2 separate regions of the Homo sapiens genome follow, and region 2 is linked to region 1. Evidence: promoter capture Hi-C in human tissues and cell types (Jung and others, 2019). All regions are on one chromosome and are shown on one strand. Each heading gives the region's core, a stretch centred on a gene start or on the middle of the fragment in contact. The rest is flanking DNA. Distances are from core to core; before and after follow the strand shown. Region 1 holds the start of BTNL9 (butyrophilin like 9). Region 2 overlaps ZFP62 (ZFP62 zinc finger protein).

Region 1 (5,608 bases), core at 2,136-4,635:
AGCTAGTAACTTCCAAAACCAAGAGGGGCTCAGGGTGTGTTTATGCATCCATTCAGATGGGTTGGGTTCTGGGGAATTAGTCGAGGTTGTGTTAGGTTGTGACACAGGTCTGCTCATAAGGTGGTAATGGGGCGCGAGACAGGTCCCACAGCTGGCCTTCTCACAGAAGGAGCACTCACTCCAATTTCCCTGGACTGGGGGCAGGCTGCCACCTCCTGGGGACAGGGGATTGGGGCAGGATGTTCCAGAACCGTGGAAGTGCTAGAGGGACCTCAGTTCTCTGTTGTGATACACCCGTGTGATTCCCATCATGGAATCTTCAGGGGAGGAGGATTGTAGACACACACACACACACACAGACACACACACATGCACACACACACAGACACACCCATGCACACACACACAGACACACACATAGACACACACACAGATGCACACACACAGACACATACACACACACACACGTGCTGACAGTAATAAAACTAACATGCATTGGGTACTTCCTATCTATCAAACACTTATCTATACCTCAGTATTATTATTTTTATTATTATTATTACTAATAGGTCCAAATTATAGATAAGGAAACGGAGGCCCAGGAGCTGAGTGACTTGCTCCTGCACACAGTGGGTGAGTGGTGGGGTGGGGTTCCACCCACTGTCTGGTTCCAGAGCCTCGCTCTGCACTTCTCGAATTCAGATTCCTCACCAGCTACGTCGTGTGTCTGGGTACACCCTTCCGTCACTCCTGTTACCCAAAACCATGACCGTCTCAGGAACCAGCTGGCCACAGACCAAACACTCACCCTAACCTGCCATCACACAGAGGCACTGAAGAAGCGACCGGCTCACACGGTGCCAGCCACAAAACCAGCCAACCAGCCAACTAATGAATACAAAATTTAAAATCCCGCTGCCAGATAAAACAACTTAAAGCTGAGGTCTCCCTAAGACTTTGTCAAGAGCATCTTCTGAGCCAGGAGGAACAGGTACCTGGTCCCTTTGCTCCCAACACTCAAGGGTATCATCTTGAAAGCCTTTAGCAGAGAGAGATGGTCTGGCAGCTTCCTGAAGGGAAAAGTCAGCGGCTCCTGGACAGCACCCTCCTCCCCGTTTGCTGCTGTGCGTCCGCCCTTTCTGACCTCACTCTTCAGTTAAGGATCCAGGGTGCTCAATCCTTACTTGAAGCGTAAGTCCCCTCCTCGAAGGAAACACTTTCCACCCTCTGCTATTTTGATTACAGTGTAAATTGATTTCAGGTTGTTCCTGGTGAGGAGGTTTTGCCTGGGGAAGGAGTAAGGGACTGGACGCGTCGGATATTTGGGGAAGAAGGAAAACCCAGTGTGCGCAAGGACCACAAAGGGGTCCTCCAGCTGGAGCTGAGCTCTGCCGGCGGGCACGTGCTGCTTGTCCTCCCAGGAGCCTTGGGCTGCTCCCTCCGGAAGGCACAGGGAGAAATAAGGGGTCCTGAGAAATGTCACTGCCTGCACCCAGCAAAAGCCCATTTCTTTCTTCTCCTTCTCTTTTTATTTTTCTTTTCTTCTTGCTCTCTCATTGCCCCCAGCCCGCCCCACTCCTGTTCTCTCCTCCTGCACCTGCAATTCCTAAACAACCCTGATGTTTTTCTGATTTCCGGTCCCTCCGTCGAGTCTGTCTTTAAAGATGAGTACTTTTTGCTTTGCTACTGTTATTTTTTTAGATAATTTATTGTTAAATAAAGAATTTTAAAGCAAAATGCAGTGGGACAGATGTCAAAGGCAAGTTGAAAACATAATTTCTGTCAAATACTATTCTGGATTTCCTAAGGTTAGGCACAAGAAAAGCATCAAATGAAAAGGTACTTACTCAAACTAAGTCTTTTTAAAAAGTCTGTATTTGAAAGGAAAACAACTTTTCACTAAAAATATAAATCATTCTTATTACAGGAAAACCATAATTTAAGAGACTGAGAAAAGTTTTTGATTCACAAATAAATGGCATCTCCCTAATACACTTAGGACTGTTTGTTTTTAATCAGTGACTCTTAAAAATCACTGCTTCCACCTGACAAACTCAGGCGAATCACTATGGATTGGTGTCCTCTGAGCCACCCTGAAGCATCCCATTTTCTCTACACATGTCCTTTTCTCCAACTTTCAGCAAAGCAAGAATGGAGAAAAAGAGGATTAGAAGGAACTTCAGTTGGTTCCCTGGTGAATAACTTAACAAAATAAAACCTGCTTTTCCATTTGTATTACACATTCACAATCTCTCACTCTTACTTACTCTATTGGTGAATTTCAGATTCTGTCCACACATATAATTATTTGCCTGAACTTAACACTATCTTCCTGACAAATAGTAAATCTCCCAAGGACATCTCCGAACCTGGCAGTGTCCACAGGCCACGTCCTCCCACAGGAGTCCCTCGCCTGCTATGCAGCTGTTGGCGTCCTGAGCGATCCCAGTGTTTCCATGGGGGCAGAGCAAAACCTTGGGGATTCTCTAACATAATTTTAAGACTACATTTCACACTTAAATGACCACGTTATGAAACCTGGCAGGAAAATCCATGTTATTAATAAATGCCATGTCTCTTGCTCTCCCAAACACAGGAAGTATTTTTTGCTCTGCATATGTCTGCGGAGACTGTGGGGTCCCAGAGTGGAAAACTTCTCTAGTAACAAAGTACAGAAATTATCCCTGAAGTATAGTCTTTGCTTTGCTACTTCTGTAAGCTGTGTAACTGGTGAATTTTGCCTGTCTCCTGTCCTCCACTCCCCAAGCTGCAAGTCCGCAGGTGTCAGTGGGGCCTTGGCCCTCTCCCACGGGCCTCCCCGACACCCCCTGCAATGCCCTTCCCCCCGGCAGACCCCAGCTAGTGCTCACTGCCTGCGCTGGTTTGATTTCGATAGGTCCACAAGAGGATTTCCACCCTCTTAGTCTCTAAGGAAGATGGACTGCCCCAAGAAGGGAACCGCAATGAGGCTTGAAATCTTTTTCGTCTGGTGGGGGCAATGGGATGTATCAGGATCCTGCCTCCTGAGATGCGGCCCACCTAAACGGGCGTGGACATCTCCTCTTGGCCACACTCGAAACATCCCATGCTGCGGCCAAGCTCGGATAATAAAATGGTGCCACTAATTGTACGCCTTCCCAAAGCCTCCCACCTTCATTTTCTGATTGCCGTTTCTGAAAGATGGAGGTGTAGGCAGCTGTTGAGAATGAGCCACTTACCTGGCAGGTAGCAGCAAAAGGTCTGAAATGGCAGATGAGTCCTGGTGAGCTCACCTCCTCTGCAAAGGGTGATGATTGCTGTAAAGTGTCTTGGTCCCAGATGCTAAGATTCCCTAGACGTGGACTGGCAGCTGAGCTCCAGAGGCCAGGGCACGTGTGACAGAATTATTTATCCATCTTCCACCCTAAGATATATGCCGTTTGCTCTGCCCTTGGCTATGGAAACCAAGATGGATAGAACAAAACAAGGAAGTCGTCACATCCTGTCTCTGAGAAAAATCTTGAATTCCCATGTAAAATATCTCTCCAGGGTCACAGAAGGAGGGGAAAGGTATCTGAGAGCTTTGTAGAGAGCGACAGCTGCAGAGGCTCAAAGTGAGGAGAAAACGCTCCAGCTGGGTTCAGGGTCTTTGTGCCAGTGAAGCTCGGACTCCAAGGAGGCAGGGTAGCAGTCCCCGAACAGTGAAAGAGAGTAGACTGCAGTCTCCACTAACTAACCACGAGGAAGGGGCTGATGACCAATTTTTAACCCACCATAACCTTCTCCTCAGGACAAGGTCAGTAAGGAACAAATCCTGGGGGCATTGTCGTGAGGCAACCTGCAAAACCTGTTCACGTGCAACTTAGAAATGCAGGAGGGTGCTGGATTGGGATTTCTCTAGTGGAGAAGAGGTCAGAAAAGAAGCAGCAAGCACTACCCCAGCCCAGCCCACCCCATCTTACTGTAGGCCATGGTGCAACTTGGGCATTAGCGGACTGAGGCACCAGCCACCCAGCTGCAGCCCACACTGACGTCCCCTCCAGGGAACAGGCCAGAGCTGAGGCACGAGCAGCTCAAGCACATGCAGTGTTGTGGGAAACTGAGGACCGGAGAGACCGATGTGAAGAACAGGAGGATTGTTTATTTTAGGTACACACCGGCTCAGTGGACTCACATCCAAAAAGCTGAGCATTAAACAAAGACAGAGCGGGGTTTTTGTAAGTGGACTTACAATAAATAAAACAAAAGCAGCTAATCATGATAGGTCACATAATCTATAGCATAGCATAACTTGTGGCCTTGCACAGCGGGTGACTTTGTAGCTGCATTGAAAGAAAAACAAGAACTGGCTAAGTACAGACATTTGTAAAACACAATCATGCTTAAGAAGCCTGGGAAAACAGTAACAGTAAAAGAATTTGTCTTTCTCTCTTTTTCCTTCAACCTTGCTCTGGAAGTGGGGCGGCGGGTATCTGGAGCCCATTCCTTTGGCCTTGGCTTTCTGGACACTGTTATAACTGTCCTTGCAGTGGGCTTGCTATAGGCAGAGGAAAACTTGTCCTTTACTTTTTAACCCTTGCCTTGCCTGTTACTTTTCTTGGAGTGAATGAAGGCATATGTATTTTTAAATTTTCTGCCTCAGTAGCACACCCCAGGGACTCCCAGAAGTGCCTGTGTTTGTAGAGGGGCCTCTGCAGGTGACAGGGCGCTACATGGGTGGGAGACGGGAGCCAGCAAGCTTCAGGCATGGACCTGGAGGTGACTGTCTGTGCTCAGACAGGCTGGTGAGACTGGGCACCCAGGCTTATTAATGTGAACAGATGTCCCTAGGACAGCAAAAGGGGCTGAACAGTGAGCTCAAACAGTGGGTGCAGTTCCCCGGGCCTGGGGAGACAGAGGAGGGCTCAAGGACAGGGTATACTTAAGATGGATGCTGCATAAACAGTAGGATCAGGGAAGCCATGGGCAGCCCGGGAGGACAGAGCCTGCGAGGACAGACATTCTTCGTGGAGGGAGGTGATTAGCATGTGGGAGGTAGGAAAAGGCTAGGGGTTAGCCAGACCAGTGTGTGGCTCACTAGTGGAAGGGAAGGTTGAACAGAAGTGGATGGGACCACATTGCAGAGGCCCTTGCATGCCACATAGGGAAGTGAAAGAGAAGGAAAATTGCACTTGTAGAGAGGGGCTGCTCGAAAACGAGAACATGGCCTAAACTTTTCATTGCCCTTAGGTTGGATTCCTCCATGCTGCCTGGGGAGAGGTGAGATTGTCACAGCAGAAATGCAAAGAGAGAGAGAAATGGGCAGAGTCCACTTCTGTGGCTCCTAGACACAGCCCTGGTGGGATGTGGGAGGGGGACCCCACCTGCCACCACCGCCTGCATATCAGGCGCATCATGCAGTAGGAAAGATGTAGACAGCGGCTGTCCCTGCCAGCCGAACCTCCCATTCCAAGACCCAGTAAATGCATAAAGGCTCAGATCCAAAATGAAGGTAGGTGCTGAACCCCTGGCGGACTATAGGTGCCACTGGAGAGAATGGACCCTCATCTGTCCTTGTGTGGGATTTTTGGGTGTCAATTTTCTTCCCAGAAACCTCTGTGGCACCTGAGTTCTTGTCCTGCCTCCAGGA
Region 2 (5,608 bases), core at 1,558-4,057, 190 kb after region 1:
TATAGCTCTCTTCTCATTCAGCATAAAGTCATCCACACTGGAGAGAAACCTTATGAATGTGATGAATGTGGGAAGGCTTTCAGGAACAGCTCAGGCCTCATAGTGCATAAAAGGATCCACACAGGAGAGAAACCTTACAAGTGTGATGTCTGTGGCAAAGCATTCAGCTATAGCTCAGGCCTCGCAGTCCATAAAAGCATTCACCCTGGGAAGAAAGCCCATGAATGTAAGGAGTGTGGGAAATCCTTTAGTTATAACTCACTACTTCTTCAACACAGAACTATTCATACCGGAGAGAGACCTTATGTATGTGATGTGTGTGGGAAAACGTTCAGAAACAATGCAGGCCTCAAAGTCCACAGGAGGCTCCATACTGGGGAAAAACCATATAAGTGTGATGTGTGTGGGAAAGCCTATATCTCACGCTCTAGCCTTAAAAATCACAAAGGAATCCACCTTGGGGAGAAGCCCTATAAATGTAGCTATTGTGAGAAATCCTTCAACTACAGCTCTGCCCTTGAACAGCATAAAAGGATTCATACCAGGGAAAAACCCTTTGGGTGTGATGAGTGTGGTAAAGCTTTCAGAAATAATTCTGGCCTTAAAGTACATAAACGAATCCACACTGGGGAACGACCTTACAAATGTGAAGAATGTGGGAAAGCATACATCTCTCTCTCGAGCCTTATAAATCATAAAAGTGTACACCCTGGGGAGAAGCCCTTTAAGTGTGACGAGTGTGAGAAGGCCTTCATCACATACCGAACCCTTACAAACCACAAAAAAGTTCATCTTGGGGAGAAGCCCTACAAATGTGATGTGTGTGAGAAATCTTTTAATTACACATCGCTCCTTTCTCAGCACAGAAGGGTCCACACTAGAGAGAAACCCTATGAATGTGACAGGTGTGAGAAGGTCTTCAGAAACAACTCAAGCCTTAAAGTTCATAAAAGAATCCATACTGGGGAGAGGCCCTATGAATGTGATGTGTGTGGAAAAGCCTACATCTCACACTCAAGCCTTATTAACCATAAGAGTACCCACCCTGGCAGGACACCCCATACATGTGATGAATGTGGAAAAGCTTTTTTCTCAAGCAGAACTCTTATAAGCCATAAAAGAGTCCATCTTGGGGAGAAACCCTTCAAGTGTGTTGAGTGTGGGAAATCTTTCAGTTACAGCTCTCTCCTTTCTCAGCACAAGAGGATCCACACAGGGGAGAAACCCTATGTGTGTGATAGGTGTGGGAAGGCCTTCAGGAACAGCTCAGGCCTCACAGTGCATAAAAGGATCCACACAGGTGAGAAACCCTATGAATGTGATGAGTGTGGGAAGGCATACATCTCACACTCAAGTCTTATCAATCATAAAAGTGTCCACCAGGGGAAGCAGCCCTATAATTGTGAGTGTGGGAAATCCTTCAATTATAGATCAGTCCTTGACCAGCACAAAAGGATCCACACTGGAAAGAAGCCATACCGATGTAATGAGTGTGGTAAGGCTTTTAATATCAGATCAAATCTCACCAAGCATAAAAGAACCCATACTGGAGAGGAATCTTTAAATGTGATATATGTGGGAAGTTATAGTGGCACATCCCAGAAGAGAACCTATGAGGGAGGGAATGCCCTGGATGGGGGCAGGATGAGGATGCCTCTGTAGCAGGCAGAGCTTACCAAGTCTCTCCGAACTCAAATGGAAGAAATACCTTATGAATGTAAGAATGTAGGGGGTCATGGCTTGTAATTTACACAGTGTAAATGAAACCATCCTAGAGGATTATGAGGAATCCTTTCTATGTGATTTTCAATCATAGCAAGCAAGAAAGGCTCCAGTGTCAAGGTAGTTCAGCTCTTACAGGATATAAAACAGTCCATACTTGAGAGAAAAACTTAGATCTGAGTGATGGAATGTGAAGCAAATCTTCAAAATCAGTAGACATTTCTGGACATAAAACACAGATGAGGAAAGGGCTTCAATTAGAAGTTACGTAATCACCATCAGAAAGTTCATGTTTGGTAAATTCTGTTACTAGAAATGTAGGAAATTCAGGTATAGCTTTGAATCCCAATTACACATTGGTCAGTGGGAAAACTAAGGGCCTCCAACAGGCAAATTCAGGGAGGATAGGTTTCAGGGAATATAAATTTATTTAATATTAGTGGTCTTTAAGTATAAACTTGATGTAATTGGTTTGGGAGGGGGCAGTGATGATGACTTCTGAAACAAAATTTGGATTTCCTTTTAGGAAAAGTAGAAAGCATAGACTTACAAGTCTAACAGGAGATAGGAGAGAGTCACTCATAAAAAATGCAAATTGATGAACGTACTATTGTGATACATTAGTTGAATGGATGAAACTTTTTTAAAGTTTCAGATGAACTCCCATAATGAATGATGAATTTGTGATGAGGGATAACCTGGAAGTGGTATTCACACATTATGCTACAATAAAAGGTTCTACCGTGGAGAGGATTTTGACACATTCAGTAACTAATGGAACACACCGTCAACATGAATTCGCACCTTACATGACAGAAGTGATTCAGGGATTCCTATGAATAGAAATGCTGAGAAGGAACGCATTTTATTGCAGAAGCTAAAAAGCTAAAGTACCAGTCATCTAGAGAGAAGGAAATTAATGTTTCTTAATAATCCTGTTAAATGTTTGATTGTTTTTGGAATGTGTTATTGTAAAGATGTCATGCAGGACATGTATATGTTGTCTGTTGTAAAATGTTAACGAATACTTTGTTCAGGGCTCACTCTCTCTTTGTCATGAAAGCCAGCTCCTTGTGGCGAGGTAAAGTGGAATTCCAATAAAGAAATTCCTTAAATCAAAACGGGCTGTGAGTTTAGATGGAGGATACCCAAGAGCCATTTGTGTGCCAGATCTTTGTTGGGTAAGTTATACCAGATCCAAACCAGAGAGGGTAGTAGACTCATCCCACAGGGCTAGCAGCTCAGCTGGTTTCACCAGAAGTTAGAAGGTGCCTCCCTAGGAGGAGCACAGGATAGATTTTGAGGGGACCACAGTGGAGCCATGTGATCGTCGTTACTGGGCCAGATCCTAACTCGGGAGCAGGTAGGTTGTGTGAGTGATCAGTCACCACACACAGCTCTGTCAGGAACATGTAGAATTGAACATAAACTACTGCTGTGTATGAAGCTGTTAACTAGGTAACTCAAAGGGTAAAAATAGACTCTTCTGAGAATTGAGTAACCTGTCTGAGAATACTGTGAGTGGGCCAATCAGCAAAGGCTGAATTTGAAGTCTGGTATCTGGTTTCAAAACCCATTGTCTTTACAAGAGAACAATCTCAGCCATGTAGTTTCCCATCTCCTTCTGGGACTCCTATCTCTGTAGCCAGATAGTTTCCATGCTCTTTCTAGGAGTATATTTGTTTCACTTTGTATCCAAACCCCTACCAGTAAGTTTTGATGGCTGCGGTGGGGAAGGGTGGAGTTGAGGGAGGAAAGGGAGATGGAGCATTTCTACCACTGCTCCACTTGGACTGTTCTGATCATACTTGCTCTCTATCCTCCTTTGCACATGACACTGGCAAGCCTGACCCTATACACAGACTTGGACTGATTTATTCAGCAAATACTTGAGGATCTACTAGGCACTGTCCCTGTCCCAGGTACTGGGTGGGAGAGGATGGCAGCAGGAGTAGATTCTGGTAGATGAGGATGAATAAAGGGAGAAAGGCTGTGAGCACAACCACCCTAATGGATGAATTAAGACTGCAGGTGCTCAGAGGACAGCGACTAGGACCAACCAAGAGGGAGGAATTGGTGACATCTGGGCAGGACGTTGAATTGGGTTTTCTGAGAGGAGTAGGAACTAGGATGACCTGAGTAAAGGCAGCTACGGAAGTGCCCAGGCATCCTCCAGCAAGGCTGGTCTCTGGCAGGGCTGATGTGTGGGCAGGAAGGAGGGTGCCATGGAGTACTCGTTCCCCGTAGTCGTGGGGACATGGATTGGGCTTCTTTTTGCTGAAGATGAGACCAGCTTTGGTTGTTTTTAACCTGAGGTTTCCATGTGCTCCTCACACAGGAGAGCTCCCGTACTTGAGCTCCAGCTGAACCTAATGCACTGTCTACTTTTGGGGAGATGCAGGCTAAATAACAAAGGAGAGGATGGCCACAGCTCAGGTGGGGATTCTGAGTGCCTCAGCCCCACTAAGCACCAGACAAGCTCCTACTGCGGCCCCCATCTACTCGCATGCTCCAGAAATGGGCCCAGGTCCTCAAGTGTACCTACAGCCAGATACAAGCCATTCAGGCTGATCCCAGACATGGTGGGGTCTCCCTTGTAGCACAGACCCAATGAACTGGTGCGGCTGAGCCTGCTCAGACCAGGGATGGAACATGGTTTAGGCACCACCCCCGGTTCCTTCCAGAGAACGATATGCAAGTGGGAAAAATAAAGGGGGAGGGAAAAGCGGGGAGGAGAAAGAGAAAAGAAAAGCCTGAAAAAACAGTGAGTATGGAATAGCCTTCCATAGGAGTGCATGTCTCTATTAGCAAATTTGTCTGAAGGTGAAAGCCTGGAAAATAATTTCATGTTTTGTGTATGAAGACACTGGGCGTGAAACGGTACTGAACACCAATCCTGCAATGCAGGGGAATTTTCCTCCGTGGGATTCAGAAATGAGAGGATCACCACCAGGACAACACCTGAAGATGGTGTTAGCTGAAGGCAGACATTGGGGACCTGAAGTCTGTCTGCATCAAGACCTTGAGTAATTGGCCACAGCTGTACCCAAGGAGTTCCTGGGCTGGGGAGACCCTTCATTTCTCTTCTCCAGCTTCAGCTAAAGGCCTAGAGACATGGAGAAGGAAGCAGAATACAGTACTTCAATTGTCTTCCTACTGAGGAGCCATTCTCATTTAGACCTGGCGGTTCTCAGGTCTGGATAGTGTCATTGTGCGAAGGAAGCCGTTTGCATGAAACCTGTGTAGAGTCAGTGAAGTATAGTGGCCGAGGACATGGTCTCCACAAGGAAGCCTGAGTTCAAATAAGGACTTTCACTTATTTCCAGATGACTTTAGGCAAGTAACTAAACTTGTGTGTCCTCACGTGTCTTTTTTTTTTTTTTTTTTTTTTTTTTTTTTTTTTTTAAGACGGTCTCGTTCTGTCGCCCAGGCTGGAGTGCAGGGGCATTAGCTCACTGCAGTCTCCACCTCCTGAGCTCAAGCAATTCTCATGCCTCAGCCTCCAGAGTAGCTGGGATTACAGGCATGCGCCACCATGCCAGGCTAACTTTGGTATTTTTGGTAGAGAAAGGGTTTCATCATTGTTGGCTGGGCTGGTCTTGAACTCCTGACCTCAAGTAATCTGCCCAGCCTCAGACTCCCAAGGTGCTGAGATTACAGGCCTGAACCACCACAGGCTACCATACTGGGCCCTCACCTGTCTTTTGTAAAGATAATAGTAGCAACCTCAGGTTGTAATGAGGGTTGGAAACATTAATAGTGTTAAGGTCCTTAGAAGGCTGCCTAGAATGAGAAGTATTTGCATAAGAATGTATGGAATAAGTCTGAAGTGTGGTGGCCCTGTCCAAAGACTCAGCATCTAGATGCTTGGGCAGTGGAGGACAAC

What was found. Contacts are between HindIII fragments. The study calls those that stand out against the background at their distance.
Region 2: a contact is called between a fragment that was not itself captured here and the fragment with the promoter of BTNL9 in region 1, in 1 of the 25 tissues and cell types used here (spleen).

Annotation. Positions count from the first base shown.
Region 1 is chr5:181,038,043-181,043,650 of GRCh38, reverse strand. It overlaps BTNL9 (butyrophilin like 9), which reads right to left and starts at 3,385. Exons shown (of 11, transcript NM_152547.5): 1 at 3,219-3,385. MIR8089 (microRNA 8089) reads left to right here and starts at 167; the gene lies at 167-248. The HindIII fragment of the contact is 13,573 bases long and covers 1-5,190 here.
Region 2 is chr5:180,844,846-180,850,453 of GRCh38, reverse strand. It overlaps ZFP62 (ZFP62 zinc finger protein), which reads left to right. Exons shown (of 2, transcript NM_001172638.2): 2 at 1-2,843. The coding sequence ends at 1,662. Among named protein-coding and RNA genes, the nearest start is that of ZFP62, 14 kb to the left of the region's middle. The HindIII fragment of the contact is 7,289 bases long and covers 1-5,608 here.